Regions from separate parts of the Homo sapiens genome. Here region 2 is linked to region 1. The links are contacts of gene promoters, found by promoter capture Hi-C in blood cells and fetal thymus (Javierre and others, 2016). All regions are on one chromosome and are shown on one strand. Each heading gives the region's core, a stretch centred on a gene start or on the middle of the fragment in contact. The rest is flanking DNA. Distances are from core to core; before and after follow the strand shown. Region 1 holds the start of ASB1 (ankyrin repeat and SOCS box containing 1). Region 2 holds the start of SCLY (selenocysteine lyase).

Region 1 (7,787 bases), core at 564-3,063:
CGCTGATCAACTACTCCAATGACAACACAACTGCCCCAGGATAGCACTTAAGCTTCAACTGAAAATCTGTTGCCCCTCTACCCGAGGCCGAAACACACTGAATAACAAAACAGCAGTGCATGAGGATATAAAAAGGAGCCCTCAGCTGAGTGTGGTGGCTGCCGCCTGTAATCCCAGCACTTTGGGAGGCAGAGGCGGGCAGATCACCTGAGGTCTAGAGTTCGCTATCAGCCTGGCCAATATGCCAATATGGTGAAGCCCCGTCTCTACTAAAATACAAAAATTAGCCGGGCATGATGCCAGCACCTGTAATCCCAGCTACTAGGGAGGCTGAGGCCAGAGCATCGCTTGAACCCCCGAGGCGGAGGCTGCAGTGGGCCGAGATCACGCCACTGCACTCCACCCTGGGCAACAAGAGCGAAACTCCGTCTCAAAAAAAAAGGAGACCTGTGCAGCCGACAAAGCCAGTGTTTATTCCCCAGGAACTCTCTTTATACTGGGAAGTAGCTGTTGGTCCTCTTTTTCCCACGGAACACGCATCATTCCGTCTCTCACTCTCACATGAGATGACATCCTAGACCCTAAGGTCCTGGCTGTCTCTGAAGTCAAAGTCAACGCCAACCAAAGCCCAGGATGGTAGATGCTTTGTCTGGCTTTTTCTGGTCACTGCAGTATCCTCTGCTGGGTCTAGCCAACAGCAGGTCTTCAATACAAGTCTGTTAAATGATTGGAAGGAGGTGCAGAGGGAGGGATGGATGGAAAAGCCTATCTGCACCAGTCTCCAAGTCAATCTTTTAAGATGTTTAAGAAATGTATTGGTTTATTACTAAGTAGGAGAGGAACCCCTCCAAAGACAAATATAGGCATGTAAAGAAAGCCCAGAACACACGAAACTATTGGCGCGAATGGCAAGCTCAGAAATCCAGCAAGAAGGAACTCCCACCACACCACCGGGAAACGGGAACCTGTCCTGACCGCTTCCTTCACATCTGCATGGTAGGGACACTGCAAGGTGGAGACCCTAAGTAGGACAGTTATTTTGGAAGGTGGGTGTGAGCCTTTCTATCTGCCTCCCTTGCTGGTGGGCCAAAGGCCCCTGGACATGTTGTGTCACTGACGAGCTCGCTGGAGACGGCGTCCCCGTTGTCCCTGGTCTGTGCCTGTGGTGGGTGGGAAGGCTGCCCCCCGCTGTACCACCGGACACGCCGTGGGCGGCAGAATGGTGAAAAAGTGCCTGCCCTCCCTAGGGCTACCCTCTGGCTGGCTTTCCTGATCCGTGCGCTCAGAGCTGGAAGGTGGCCCACGTCCTACTTTTGCGGTTGGGTCATATCAAATCTGTATCGGCTAACGGGAAGGAAGTTACGAGCAAGTTCCACCGGAAAGAAAATCTAGCGCGGGGACTGCACTCGAGGCCGAGGAGAGGGCAGCGCGTCCGTGGTGGGGTCGCCCAGCACTGCGAGCCGCGCTGAACCCCACCCCCGGCCTGCAGGGTGCGGCTCCCTGGCTGCCCCGTGGACCCGGCCAGCCCGGGACGAGGACGCAGGACCTCGGCAGGGACGCCGGAGCCAGCCCTTCGCCATCCCCACACGCCCCGCGGCCCAGTGGCCGCGCGCACGTTACCTGCGGAGCCCGGCCCTGCCCGCCCGTCTGGGCTGCCGCCCTCCGCCATGGATGCTTCCGCCTCCGCGGCCGCCCCTGACCCGCGCACGCCCCTCGGGCAGGAAGCAGAACGACCCGCGACCACTTCCGGCGCCGAGGGCAATGGGGGGCGCGTCGGGGTCGCGGCTTCCGGCGGGCGCGCGCCGGCCTCACTGGTTTCCGGGGCCGCGCAGGGGCCACGCCTCCGCTTCCGGCCTCGCTGTCTAGCAGGGCGCTGGCTGGTCCCTTCGTCCGGCGGGAACTTCGCGGCTAACCGACTCTCTGGATGCCGGCCGCGCTGTGGTTTCCTCACATAAGAAGCCAAGGAGTCGGAAAGCCCGTTGCCTGAGGCAGCAGTCTGGGAATTTCGGTCCGGCGGGCCGTCCCCACCCACACGGACGGGGCGTGGCTTCTGCCAGATGTGGGCGGGGCCCCGAGGGCCGTGGCGGGCGGGACCCGGGCCTCGGCCGGGCTGGCTTGGTCCCCGCAGGTGCCCCCCGCTAGCCACGAGCAGCCCCGGGAGGGTGGATTCGGAGGCGCGGGGACTGGTGAGGGCCCACTGCAGGGCTGAGCGTCGCAGCGTGCTGTGGTTTTAGATGAATGCTCCTCCAAATCCCTTCCATGAAGCCCTCAATCAGGTCGGTAACTGATGACAGCCAGTGGCTGACGCGAAGTTCATTGAATAAATGAATGCATTCGTGAACAACCGAGTAACATTTCTTGCACACTCCCAACTTCAAATATCGCAGCGTCGTCCCACCATGAGTATTGGTGTTGGTCCTAAAGCACGGATTCCCTTGGCTCCTCCCATTCTCCCCTGCTGAGTTAGACAGCGGGGCCTCATGCAGGAGGAGGATTTGTACACAGCACAGCAGGAGGCTGATGAGGGAGTCCGGAGACCCCAGCAGTCGTGGGCGTGAGCTGCTGGCTCATCCGTGTGTACAACATTCCAGACTGGAGTAAGGGAAGCCGCAGGCGCAGCCCCGCGAGTGCCCCTGCTGAGGCTGGCCCTGGGTGGCCCAGATGCACCAGGGGGCCCACTGGGGGCAGACCTGGCAGGCCCTGTGGGGGTTGGAGGCGGGAGTGGGGGTACTTCCTACAGTGGTGTTTGGTCTTGATGACAGCAGAGAGCACCACTGGCATGAGGGACAGGTGACTCCGATGATGACGCTGCCAGGCCAGGAGCCAGGGGTGTGCCCAGCCCCTGGCTCCACCACAGCTGCACATCCCGAACTCGGAGCTTCAGCAACTCCGAAGCCTGAAGCCGCCTCACGTGTTGTTGGATGGATGAATGGATAAACGAAATGCCGTCCATCCATACAATGGAATCGTACTCAGCCTTAGAAAGGAAATGCTGTCCGTCCATACAATGGATTCGTACTCAGCCTTAGAAAGGAAGGGAATCCTGACACACGTCACAACACGGATGACCTTGAAGACGTTATGCTGAGTGAGATAAGCCAGCCACAAAAAGACAAATACAGTACTGTGTGATTCCAATTATTTGAGGTCCCTGGAGCAGTGAAATGGTGGAGCGGAATGGGGGTTGCCAAGGGCTGGGGGAGTGGGGAATGAGGAGTTAGTTTTTCATGGGGACAGAGCTTCAGTTGAGGAAGATGAAAAAGTTTTGGAGACGGGTCACACAGCAATGTGAATTGTGCATTAACAGTACTGAACTGCGCATTTAAAGCAGGTTAAGTTTTATGTTCTATATATTTTACCACAATTGTTTTAAAGAATTTTTTAAAAGAGGTTCCGGTGCAGTCAGTCAGGGGTGCGGGTTGGGTGTTGGGTGGTTCAGAGCACCCAGGTGATTCTAAAGTGCAGCCTGGTGAGAGCCACGTCTCCGGGGGCCTCCGCTGCTCTGCCTGCCTGGTCCCGGTGGGCTCACAGTGAGCGTTCTGCGTGTCGGTAGCCTTTGCATCAAGGTATTGAGTCCCTGAGCAGAGTGGCCCTCCTGCACCTGCACCTCCACCTTCCCTGCCACGTGTTGCCCTTGGGATCCTGCCTCTTAGAAGAACCTGAGGCCGCACGTGGTCTGTAGCGGGGAGGTGGCCTCACATGCCCACCTCCGTGCCTCCTAAATGCCCACATGGTGCAGGGCAGTGTCCACAGAGCCAGCAGTGCTGGAGGGGGAAGGACACTCAATTGCTGGCCACTCTGCCAATACCATCACCCCCATTTCTCAGGACCCTGAGATCTGGGGGCCTGGTGCTATGCCCAAAACCACATAGCCCACAGGTGGCTGAGTTGGGATCACATCCAGACTGTCCAGCCCTACAGCCTGTCTCCCCCTCTGACCTCACCTCTCCAGAGTCCCTCTTCTTCCAGGTCCTCTGAGCCCAAAAGACCCACCAACACAGGGACACTCAGTGACCGCTAGAGATGAAGCAACTTGGGTCCCATCACCTACAAGCAACAGGGATTTACCAGTGCCTACCAGTGCCATCCCAGCCCAGCACAGCAGCAACAGGACCAGTGCAGTGGGCTGTCTTGCCCCTCCAGGTCCCAGTGGCTCCCTCCCGTTTTCCCACCCCTAAAATCACCCGTCGCTTCCTGTTGCCTCCTGGAGGCTCAGGCCTCCCCCAAAGTGTCCCCAGTGACCCCTCTGTGGAGCCTAGCCCAGTCTTTGTGGTGGAAAATTTGGCAGTCTAGCTAAAGCATAAGAATGAATAATCCTTGATCAGAAATGCCTCTTCCAGGCATTCATTCTAGGGAAATAATCAGATGTGGGGGAGATTCAGCTACAGTAGTGCTCATTACCATCATTTTATAACAAAAATGTCCAACAATGGACTTTCTGGTTCAGGAGGTCTGAGAAGGGGCCCCCATCCCTCATCCTTCCTGTTGCAGGGAACTGGGGGCCCCTCTGGAAGCATGGCAGGTATATGGGGGGCTGGAAACATGAGCTCCACAGCTGCAGGCTGGTGAGGATCCTGCTGGGCCTGGGTGTGCTGGTGCTGCTGTCGCTTAACCCCCACAGCTGTCTCCGGGAATTGGGCAGCAGATGTCACCCAGGCAGGGACCAGAAATGGGAATCTCTCCTGATCCTAGGCCCTGTGGGCCTGTGTTTGGGGTGTCTCCTCCCAGGAGGCCCAGCCCTCTCTTCCCCTTTGAAGGATCTCCTGCTTTGAAGGAAGCAGGGGATCTGAAGGTTTACCAGGTGAGGCCACGAGATGAGGGCAGCCCGCTGACCCTCCAGGCTTTGCCCTGGAAACATCTTTACCAGCCCCTGCCCCGCAGACCCTGTCTCAGGCCTTGGAGCCCACCTGCAGAGAGTCAGGGTGTCTGCCCCAAGCTAGGGAGGCAGATCCACATCCTTCCAGCTGAGTCACCAGGACAGGGTGACTCCTCTGAGCACCAGCTGCCTCCCTGTCAAATCGGGCTGATAATACCCACTTTGCAGGCTTTGTAAAGACACAAAATCCCATAGAATGTGCCACAGGCTTCCTGGGGCAGAGAGAGCCTCAGGACACAGTGGGCATCGGTGCCATGGCTGCTAACGCTATGGCATGGCTTTGCTGAGTGGAGCCACGCCCACCTCCAGCCTCCCACCCCACCCCACCCTGTCCTAAACTGAGCCCACCTTCTCTGCCCAGCTTGGAACAGAGCAGGGCTCAGGGGTAGACGCAGTGTCCCAGCAGGCCCTCAGCTTGGGGCTGGTGGGGCTGGGCAGGGCCCAGGCCGTGATGTTCCTTGCAGCCCTCGAAGCCTCCCTCTTCCAGCCAGGTCGGCCTCTGCCTGGATGTGGTTTAGCCTGGCAGTGGAGGTCCCAGGGAGGACCGGGAAGCCCAGCTGTGGGGACTGCAGAGGACAGTGTGGGCCCTGGGAGTCCTGCCAAGGGGGTGCCCTCTTTCAGCCCCCCTCACAGGTGCTGTGCTGCCTCCCTTGGTGTGACCGAGAACTCCACTAGTGTCAGGAGGCCACAGCGCTCAGTGAGCCCCTGCATCCTCTACCAGGGCCTGCGTCTCTCCAGGCAGCACCTGTGGAAGGCAACTACCATGTGCTGGTCACTGCCACAGCGGGAGGAGTCAGAGGTGAGGAAATCTCAGTCCCAGAGCAGGGACTGGCAGCAGAGACAGGAGGTTTTTAGAGACTCTTCGGCCACAGCGGGACCAACAGCCCAGCTTGCCCAGCACTGAGTGGGCCTCAGAACACAGAGCTGCCAGTTTTCAAAGCAGGGTGAGTGGAGACCCTATCCCAGCCCTCAGCTCCGCTCCCCGCCTGTCCTGCGGCAGTGCTGGAGTCTTTGGGCTGGCCTCACCATGCCCTCCTTACCGCCAGGTGAACTTTTCCTGCCATACCAGTTGGTCTCTGTCACTCGGGCTCACAGACTCCTTCACGGTCCCGAATGCCCATCTATAGGCTCTTGGAGGAGCCTGGGCATCTGAGGCCCTTCCCGAGAAGAGCCCCAACCTCCCTCCCCTCCTCCAGCTCCCAAGCGCCCTGCCTAGAACCTGACCCTCCAGGGCCAGCACTCTCTCCCTGGGGTCTGCGCACGAGGCTCCCTCCCTCCCATACCCCTGTCCTGGGGACCTCTCCCCCTCACCAGATGCCTCCCCCACCGCACCCCCGCTTTCCGCCCCGCAGCTGGGGCCTTGGCTCCAGGTCCTCCCAGCAGCATTTATCTCCTCACCTGACTGCAGCTGCCGGAGGAGCTGGCCTATCTCTCCTGGCAGACAGTTAGGTTCCACGAAAGTGGCTTCTGGTGGGACGGGTATTTTGATTCTGTCACAGGAGCTGGCCCAGGCCTTGTTCCTGAACCAATGGATAAAGGCATTCATGCTCTGAAATTGACAAACTGCCACACCAGGGCAGCGGGGTTCTAGGGTTCAGGGGCGAGCAAAGCTGGACACCATCCCAAGGAACCTATAGAGCAGCATGGGGGCATTGAATGGCAGCCTCCAAAACAGAGATGTCCACGGTCTCAGCTCCGGAACCGTGAATGGGACCTTATTTGGAAAAAGGGTCTTTGCAGATGCGATTAAGGATCTCAAGATGAGATCGTCCTGGATTTAGGGCAGGCCCTAATCCAATGGCAGCTGCCTTTACAAGAGAAAGGCAAAGGCGGATTGGAGAGAGAGAAGACAGCGTGAAGACGGGGGTGGAGAGTGCAGCGACGTGGCCACAAGCCGAGGAACACCTGGGGCCCCCAGAAGCTGGCAGAGGCAACAAGGACCCTCCCCTAGAACGTGGGGGTCGGGGGAGCGCAGCCCTGCCTGCACCTGGGCTTCACACGGGTCTGTGGTGAACTGTTTCCGAAGCTTCAGGGCTCATACATCCAGTAAGGAAACTGGAATTACAGTCGCTCCCTGCGGCGAGGACCCAGCAGGAGAGCCCGGGCTGAGAGCGGGAAGGCGTCTCCAGGAGCCACACCGAGGGTAAGAAGACTTCACTCCCCTTAGCCCTGTTACTCAAAAGCACTGCTTTGCTAACAGTTTCTTTTTCAGGAACTTTTTCATGTTTGGAATGTATTTTCCCCTAGGTTATCAGCAGAAAACACACGCCTGAATGGGCGTGTCGGTGGAGCTGAGCCTGTCGCCTCATCCAGTGCCACGGAGGAGCCCTCGCGGTGTCTCCCTGCAGAGGTCACACTGGGGTCACAACTGAGGCTGCCTTGGGCAAGGGCCAACCGCAAGGCTGTTTCTGAAACCATAAAGTACCAAGAGAATGCCCTGTGTTACAATTAATAAATAGCATTGTTAATCGACGTGAACAAAGCCGGCCTTCATTGCTTTATTTGGTGGCCCATTTGGTGAAGCACTTAAGAAGAGTCCTGGCCAACATACACACATCATGGTTTTAATTACATCCTGTGAATTTATTTTTCCAGAGAGAAATATTTCTCAGGGAAATGTCCATAAAAGCAACGTTAGCAGAGTGTGATGGTGTGTGTGTGTTTCCTCTAGGAAATCTGTTTAGTTTAAGTCCCAGCTTTGAGCAGCACTTTTTACAAAGACAGGGGACCTGAAGAAGGCTGCCGACAGCCGGAGCAGGCGGTGTCCCAGCAGAGAGGAAGTCTCCAGGCTGCTCTGCCCTTCGTCTCTCTGGGAACTTGCCCCTCTCCCCTTTTCCACATAGGAATTCTGAATTGCTCTTGGAAGCCCAAAGGGGGCTGGGCTTTTCTCTAAACCCTACACACTTCTGCC
Region 2 (7,677 bases), core at 4,780-7,279, 370 kb after region 1:
CCCGGTGGGAGGTAACTGAATCATGGCGGCAGGTCTTTCCCATGCTAGTCTCGTGATAGTGAATCAGTCTCATGAAATCTGATGGTTTTATAAAGGGGAGCTCCCCTGCACGCACACTCTTCTCTGCTGCCATGTAAGATGTGACTTTGCTCCTCTTTCGCCTTCCTCCGTGATTGTGGGGCCTCCCCAGCCATGGGAAACTGTGAGTCAATTAAACCTCTTTCCTTTATAAATTACCCAGTCTCAGGTACATCTTCATTAGCAGCATGAGAACAGACTAATACACTCAGGAAATGGCAACTCCATCCCTCAGCAGCCCAGGGCAAAAGCGTGGGCTCTTTCCCTTTTCATTCCCCGCCAATTAATCCACCAGCAAATGCTGTAGGCTCTGTGTTCAAACGATGTTCCAAACCTGACTCTGCCTCTCCACCGCCCAGCCACCAACCAAGCCAAGGCCACTGCTGTGATGTTCTCCTAGCAGGCCCCCACCAGGGTCCATTCTCCACATAGTGGACAAAGTAATGCCTCGAAAACCCAAATACATTTTGGGCACCGTGCTTCATCCCTCCCCCAACAGGGTGCTGAGTACACAGCTGGTGCTCAGTCAGTGCTGCTTACGTCAGCGGTTTCCAAAACCCCAAGGCCCTCTCAGGAGGTCCACAAAGTCAAAACTGTTTTCATGATGATACTAAGAGAAGAACTGCCTTTTTCACGCTCCTTTTCTCACAGGTATATGGTGAACCTTCCAGAGGCTTCCGTCACTATGATGTGACTGCAGTGGGCTGGACGGGGAGGTATGAGCGCCAGCTATCTTCCAGCAACAGGCAGTAAAGAGACTTCCACATGCACAACAGTGCAATGCTCACTAGGTTTCTTGTTTTGCCGAAGATAGTTTATTTTTCATAAAAATTCATGAATGCTGAGCTTATTTTCAGGGTTTTTGTTTGTTTTGCTATTATAAGCAAGACTGTGATAAATATCTTAGGTATGTAAAATCCCCACATCCTCAACATATTCCTTAAAATAAATTTCCCTCAAAGGCTTTAGATAATATTTAGGCTGGGCATGGTGGCTCACACCTGTAATCCCAGCACTGTGGGAGGCCGAGGTGGGTGGATCACAAGGTCAGGAGTTCAAGACCAGCCTGGCCAAGATGGTGAAACCCCGTCTCTACTAAAAATACAAAAATTAGCCAGGCATGGTGGCGCGTGCCTCTAGTCCCAGCTACTTGGGAGGCTGAGGCAGAAGAATCGCTTGAATCCGGGAGGCGGAGGTTGCATTGACCCGAGATTGCACCACTGCACTCCAGCCTGGGCGAGAGCGAGACTCAATCTCAAAATAATAATAATAATAATAATAATAATAATAAAATAAAATATTATTAGTTTAAATAACAATATTGTGAAAATAATTAAACCACTCTATAAATTGATTTTTTTTCTTTTGCATTTCGATCTGAGTAGCAACACAAAGTGAACTGCAACACTTTTGAGTTTATGGTTCTTAATTTGTGGAAACAAAGGCTATCAAGGAAACCTAAAAGCCACTGCCAGGCTTCATTCAGGTCCAGAACATGATTTCTCCCTGAGAGCGATTCCCAGACTTTTTCATGAGACAATGCCTGTCATCGGCATTTAATTATTCTCCATATTTTCAAGTCTAATACGTCAGAAATTTCAATTTTACTAGAGGAGAGACTGGATACGAGGCAATGTGCAGAAGATTAGCCAGAATAGACCAACAAATAAGCCAACAAATAAGTTAATGAATGACTAGTATCTGAGCTGAAGGGCTTTGTTATTAAGTTGCCGTGAAACGTTTAATAAGCAAATGGATAGGAGAACGTATTAAACCTGTAAATTGTACGCAAGTGTTACTAAATCGTATGGCCTGGCAATATTCTGTTTGAAGTTAATTTAGTTCATCATCATCCACAGTTAACACAGTTTATCTTAATTATCTCTCATAAACATGAAATAAGAAAGGTAAGACTTTAGCTTGCTCATCTGTCTGAAAAACAGAATGTAACTCTGTCATATAACTGACTTGAAGCAAATTCTTCTCCAAAACCTCCAATTTAATGGTCTACATTACAATAAGAATAAATTGGAAACAAATAAGAATATTCATAACTAAAGTAATTAATGAAAAAGTAATTTTCATCTTTAAAAAGGGCCAGGATTATATGTTATCCTGATGACCTAAAAGACATATTTTGCAAATTCTGTAAGGATTGACTGAGCTAGATCTGTGAAGTGCTCCACAGGTACTGACTGCTACTTCAAGGAACTCTCAGTAGACACCTTTCTCATCTGGGAAAGGGTGACAGGACAGCATGTTAAAGATTAAACATTAAAGGTTAAAGATTACAGTATCGACAAGGCTCAGCTTACAAATGGGGCCTTCCCAGAAAAGAAACTATCAAAAATTACAGCTCAAGAATTGCAGCTAACAGAAACCTATTCAAAACAAAGCCGTCACGTGTGGGTGTGCAATTTCTCTAAGAGCGCCCCATCCCCATTATCTCCCATCAGTGAACACGTGCATCTTCTAGAATTACCTGCTGAATACGGGCTGCTGGGATTTCCCCAGGCTTCCCACATGGCCTTGGTCATGGCCTGGATAACTTCTGGCTCCAGGGGAGTCGTTGCATTATAGTCCATATAAACTTTCCTGAAGGAAAGAAAGCAAAGACACCCATTAAGGAAAAGGAGATGGCATATGGGAAATATGGCTGCTCTGTGTCTATCCCATCGGCAGGAGCAAATAATGTCAAGGGCATGGTGATCCTCTGCATAAGCACTGCAGGCATCCACAAGCTGCACTTGGGAATCTACAGATCTACACTACTTATGGAAAATGCATGCATAATTTCTAAGACTCTAGTTTTTGTCAATTTCTTTTATAATTGATAGGACTTGGATTTTCATTTCGGTTTTCAAAATTTCTTTCTAGCAAGGCACAGTGGATTGTGCCTGTAGTCCAGCCATGTGGGAGGCTGAGGCGGAATGACCTCTTGAGGCCAGAAGTTTGAGGCTGCAGTGAGCTATGATGGTGCCTATGAATAGCCACTGCACTCCAGCCCGGGCAACACAGCCAGACCCAGTCTCTAATAACAAACACTCTTTCTACCCCTTGGTAGGATTAATGGTCTGTTGGGCCCAGATTACCCATCTGACTGCTGTAAAGGGCAGATCACTGGCCTCTTCCTTATGGAAGGAGGGGAACAGCTGCACATTCCCCAAGGGAACTTTCCTGTCTGCTGTTTTAACTTCATCAGAGGTTCGCCTTATTTCCCCACACTCATTTTTGCGATGGCCTGTGGGGCTCCTAGTGACCTGGGCTTCTCCCTGGGGCAGGTGAACTTTGGCCCCAGACCTTGCACTTTCAGTTTCTTTGCCCAGAAAGACTACATGCCCTGCCCCCACCTTACTTTTTTAGGTCTTTGTTCCAACTTAGTCCTCTTGTGAGACCCCCTGCCCTGCAGCTCTGCTTAAAACTACAGCTGGCTGGGCGCGGTGGCTCACGCCTATAATCCCAGCACTTTGGGAGGTCAAGGCAGGTGGATCACTTGAGGTTAGGAGTTTGAGACCAGCCTGGCCAACATGGTGAAACTCCATCTCTACTAAAAATGCAAACATTAGCCCTACTAGGGAGGCTGGGGCAGAAGAATTGCTTGAACCCAGGAGGCAGAGGTTGCTGTGAGCCGAGATCATATCACTGCACTCTAGCCTGGGCAACAGAGTGAGAGTCCGTCTCAAAAAAAAAAAAAACAACAACAAAAAAAACAAACCCACAAAACTGCAGCCACCTATGTCCCTACCTCCCCAGCCTCCAGGTCCCCTTCCCGCCTTCCTTTCTGGGCAGCATCATCATCTGACATACCAGACTTGTTCCCTTACTGTCTACCTTAATAGAGTAACAGAAGTATGGCTCCATGGGCATGGGGGCTCTGTTTTTCTCACTGCCCTGTCACCAATGTTGAAGCCCATGGTTGCCACACAACAGGGGCCTGATTTTTATAAGATGACAAAATAAATGCCACAGAAAGTACAAATTCCCTGAAAGATCCCTCACTAAGTAAAATTTATCTGTATATCTTTTTACTAATATCCAAAACCTTCGAAAGCCTTTAGAAAAATGTGTAGTAGTAGTCCTGCCTGATATTAATTTATCTAGTTTTTAAATAAACAGTGCTTACACCAATCCACATGAAAACCCAGATACAATGACTAACTGTGGCTGTTAAGCCACTGAGTGTGGACAGAATGTGCATTAGTTGAAATGAAGCATCTTTTCTGTTCAAAATCACTCAACAGGCTGTGCCCTGTGGCTCACGCCTGTAATCCCGGCACTTTGGGAGGCCAAGGCGGGCAGATCACCTGAGGTCAGGAGTTCAAGGTCAGCCTGGCCAACACGGCGAAACCCCATCTCTACTAAAAATACAATAAAATTAGCTGGACGTGGTGGCACGTGCCTGTAATCCCAGCTACTTGGGAGGCTGAGACAGGAGAATCGTTTGAACCCGGGCAGTGGATGTTGCAGTGAGCCAAGACTGCACCACTGCACTCCAGCCTGGGTGACAGAGTGAGACTCCATCTCAATTAAAAAAAAAAAAAAAAATCACTCAATAGGTACAAGGCTTTGACAAGTTTGACTCGCCATCCTTTACCACTCTGGTACTAGTATTAATAGTCCTAGGAATCCCCCAGCCCGGCTTGACTTTGCATGTGCCCTTATATCTGTTTTTCTTTCCTATAAATAAGCATCCAAAGTACCTTAGGCTAGCTAGTGTTTGTTGAGCGACTGTAGCTCTTCAATCTGCTGCTGGGCTGAACAAATCTATTTTGTTCAGATTAATACTTTACACATTCCTTTGCTTCATTATTTGCTGCTTCCTTAAAATGCTATCAGTATTGGATGAGCAGGCTCAACTTTGTTAGCTTCATAACCAAAAAATAAAAAATCTTGGGAATCTCGCTCCACTGATTCCCTAGGGGATATTTTCCCAGATCCCTTCACTTTGTTCCAACCAAGGTAGAATGCCAAATGTGTGTGCTTTAGGCCTGGACCCCCTCATATTCTAAGCATGGGTAGCGAATGAGCTCACAAAAAGGAAAAAGAGGGGTCTGGAAAGAAGACACACAAACCAGAAAATGCATACCCCTGCCTCCTGCTCTTCTCGGACTTAACTAGTATGGATACCACGTGCTTCGGGTCTCCGCGCTTCTCAGCGGTGGCCATCCCGTTTCCTGCAGCTGGGCCAGCAGTCTGGGAGAACCCTTGATTCCCTTTCACCTGCCCCAGTGCACCAGCTTCCTACCAACGCATCCGTTTCTGGGCGCACACCACATCTCTCTCCTAGGTTGTTACAAGATCCCCAACTGGCTTCCCGGCTTCCTCTCGTCCCATGCCTACCCGCGCCCCTACTTTCTAGGAAGCAGCCAGAAGGACTCCTTCAAAACACTTAAATTGCATCGCCCCGTGATCAACTTCCGAGGCCCCATAAGGCTCCGAATGAACCCCAAAGTTCTTCCCGGGCTCAGGGGCTCTGCCGGTTCACCTCCGGCAAGTCCCCTGCCCTTCGCATCTGCTGTGCCCTCTTCCTGGCAGGCTCTGCTTCCCCAGAACCTGCAAACCTCACCCCTGGAAGTCACTCGGGTTTCGGCCCCAAAGTCACCTCTCCGTGGGCCCTTGCGGGGCCACAGCTCGCACCCGCTCCTCCTTGAAGCTCGCATCCCTGACTTAGGCCGACCTCGCGGACATCCCCGCGCGGGACGCCCCACGCGAGAGCGGCCACAGGCCGGGAGCCCCCTTCGTCCTCCCGCGCGGGACAATCGGCGACAGGCGCCGGCCGCTCCCCAGCCCTGCCCTAAAGGCGCGCACCTCTCCGGCGAGTTGTGTTTCCCGCAGCCGCTGGGCTGACTCGCCGCGGGTGCCGGCGCATCCCTCCCCGGCGCCACGGCCGCCTCCATCCCCGCCCCACTGCTGCCGGGCATCCAGCCTCCTTCCCGCGGAGCGCTACGGGCCCAGAGCGCCGGGGAGGAGGCGGGGCCGCGACGCCCGGGCGCGTCCGGATTGGCTGAGCGAAGCACCCCAGCCAATCCACCCGCTTCAGAGGGCCGCCGAGCCCCCAGCGGGGAGGCGAGGCTGCGCTGGGTCAGGTGACGGGTGGGGGCGGGGCTTAGCGCGTCACAGAGCTTCCCGGGAACCGGGCGCTAGAAGCCGCGTCTCCTGGGCCGGCGGATCCCCGCACTTTCACTTCCGGGGGAGCCCCGTGACCTTTGCTGTCTGCGGCAGGGCCGCCATCGGGCCGCGGCCGGTTAGTCGGCGTAAGAGCAGGCGGGGCCCGAGCTGGACCTGAGGAGCAGAGGCGGCTGGGCAGTCCTGCGGGTGCCTCCCTCTAGCCGCATGAGCGCGGGACCGTGCACTCCGGGAGAGCCGGGGCCGCGCGGCCTTGTTCCCCGCGAACCCTCGAGGGGAAGTGCCGGGGCCGCGGCAGCAGGGCCAGGGCCCCGGGGGTCTCCCGCAGGCCACCCTGGACAGTGATGAGCAGGTCCGCTGGACCTGCGCGTCCGTTAGTCGGAGCGGCTCCATAGGGGACCTGGATGGCGTGAAGTTAAGAGTCACGCATCGAGGATGGACTTGAGGGGATCTGGAGTAGAGGATGGGAGGGCATTGAGAAAATAGGGCCAGAGATGAGGGACTCTAAGTGGGCGTGGAAACGCAGGAAAGATTAATTCAAGATCTGTTTAGGCCGTTAAATAGGAATTGGGGCATGAGGGACAGGAAGGAAGCAAGGATTAGACAAGTGACTGGGAAGATGTTAGTGCCTTTATCTGGGTAAGAGGGAAGACGGGAGGGGGAAAGATGATGGGTTTAGCTTTGGACATGTTGAGTTGTCTGTGAGACAGTCACAAGTGTAAACATCCACCAATGGTTGGTGTCCCGCCAACCATTAAGAAAAGTCAGTTGAGAAAGTGGTAGAAATGAGCAAAAATCCTCACGAAGCCATCCTACCGTCACTTTTTTTGTTGTTTTTTGTTTTTTTGGCATAATAGTGTCTACCTTTAATTGAGCCTTGAACTATGCCAGGCAGTGTTCTAGGTATTTTTCGTGTGTTCACTAATTTAATCTTGATGATTAACCCAGTCTGGTAGGTATTTATGTATGAGGAATCCAAGATACAGAAAGGCATCTTGCCCAAGTTCACACGAGTAGTGGCTGGAGCCAAAATTCGGTTTCAAGCATGCTTTGCCAAGAGGTTGAATTTTAATTGGCTTTTCATGGGCTTTCTCTATTTTGTGTCCTGTTGGGGTCCAGAATAACTTGGCTTTTCCAGCACAGCAAATCTGCAAATTTCTGGACTCATTCTCTCTCATTCTTCCCTATAAACGCAGCTCATTTCTTGCCAAATGCAGCCAATAGCAAAGGGCCCACCAACATTTAAGAAGCAAATGGATGCACAGGAGCATGAGAACAGTCAAAAGAGGAGGAAAGGAAAGGGAATTGAGAAGGAATGTCAAAAAAGTCAAGAAGACACATAATAGTGTAAAGTGTGGCTGAGAGGCAATCCGAAGTCTACTGTGCGTAACAATTAGGAGGCACTGATAAACTAGCGAGAGAAGTCTCAGTGATGGGAGAGGCATGGAAGTTAGAATGCAAAGATGGGATATG

The links. The method cuts DNA at HindIII sites, captures the fragments that hold promoters and counts their contacts. A CHiCAGO score of 5 or more calls a contact.
Region 2: the fragment with the promoter of SCLY here is called in contact with the fragment with the promoter of ASB1 in region 1 in 3 of 17 cell types (total B cells, naive CD8 T cells and total CD8 T cells); the score reaches 9.0 in total B cells.

What each region holds. Positions count from the first base shown.
Region 1 is chr2:238,420,953-238,428,739 of GRCh38, reverse strand. It overlaps ASB1 (ankyrin repeat and SOCS box containing 1), which reads right to left and starts at 1,813. Exons shown (of 5, transcript NM_001040445.3): 1 at 1,621-1,813. The coding sequence starts at 1,669. LOC124908002 (a long non-coding RNA gene) reads left to right here and starts at 1,846. Exons shown (of 2, transcript XR_007088163.1): 1 at 1,846-7,019; 2 at 7,124-7,354. RefSeq lists enhancers at 1,065-1,184, 2,697-3,232, 6,355-7,014, silencers at 1,435-1,954, 1,975-2,364 and cis regulatory regions at 5,957-6,589, 6,760-7,445. The HindIII fragment of the contact is 6,850 bases long and covers 55-6,904 here.
Region 2 is chr2:238,059,353-238,067,029 of GRCh38, reverse strand. It overlaps SCLY (selenocysteine lyase), which reads right to left and starts at 6,029. Exons shown (of 12, transcript NM_016510.7): 1 at 5,887-6,029; 2 at 2,561-2,673. The coding sequence starts at 5,975. It overlaps UBE2F-SCLY (UBE2F-SCLY readthrough (NMD candidate)), which reads right to left. Exons shown (of 19, transcript NR_037904.1): 9 at 2,561-2,673. RefSeq lists silencers at 5,820-6,269, 6,410-6,619. The HindIII fragment of the contact is 10,603 bases long and covers 1-7,677 here.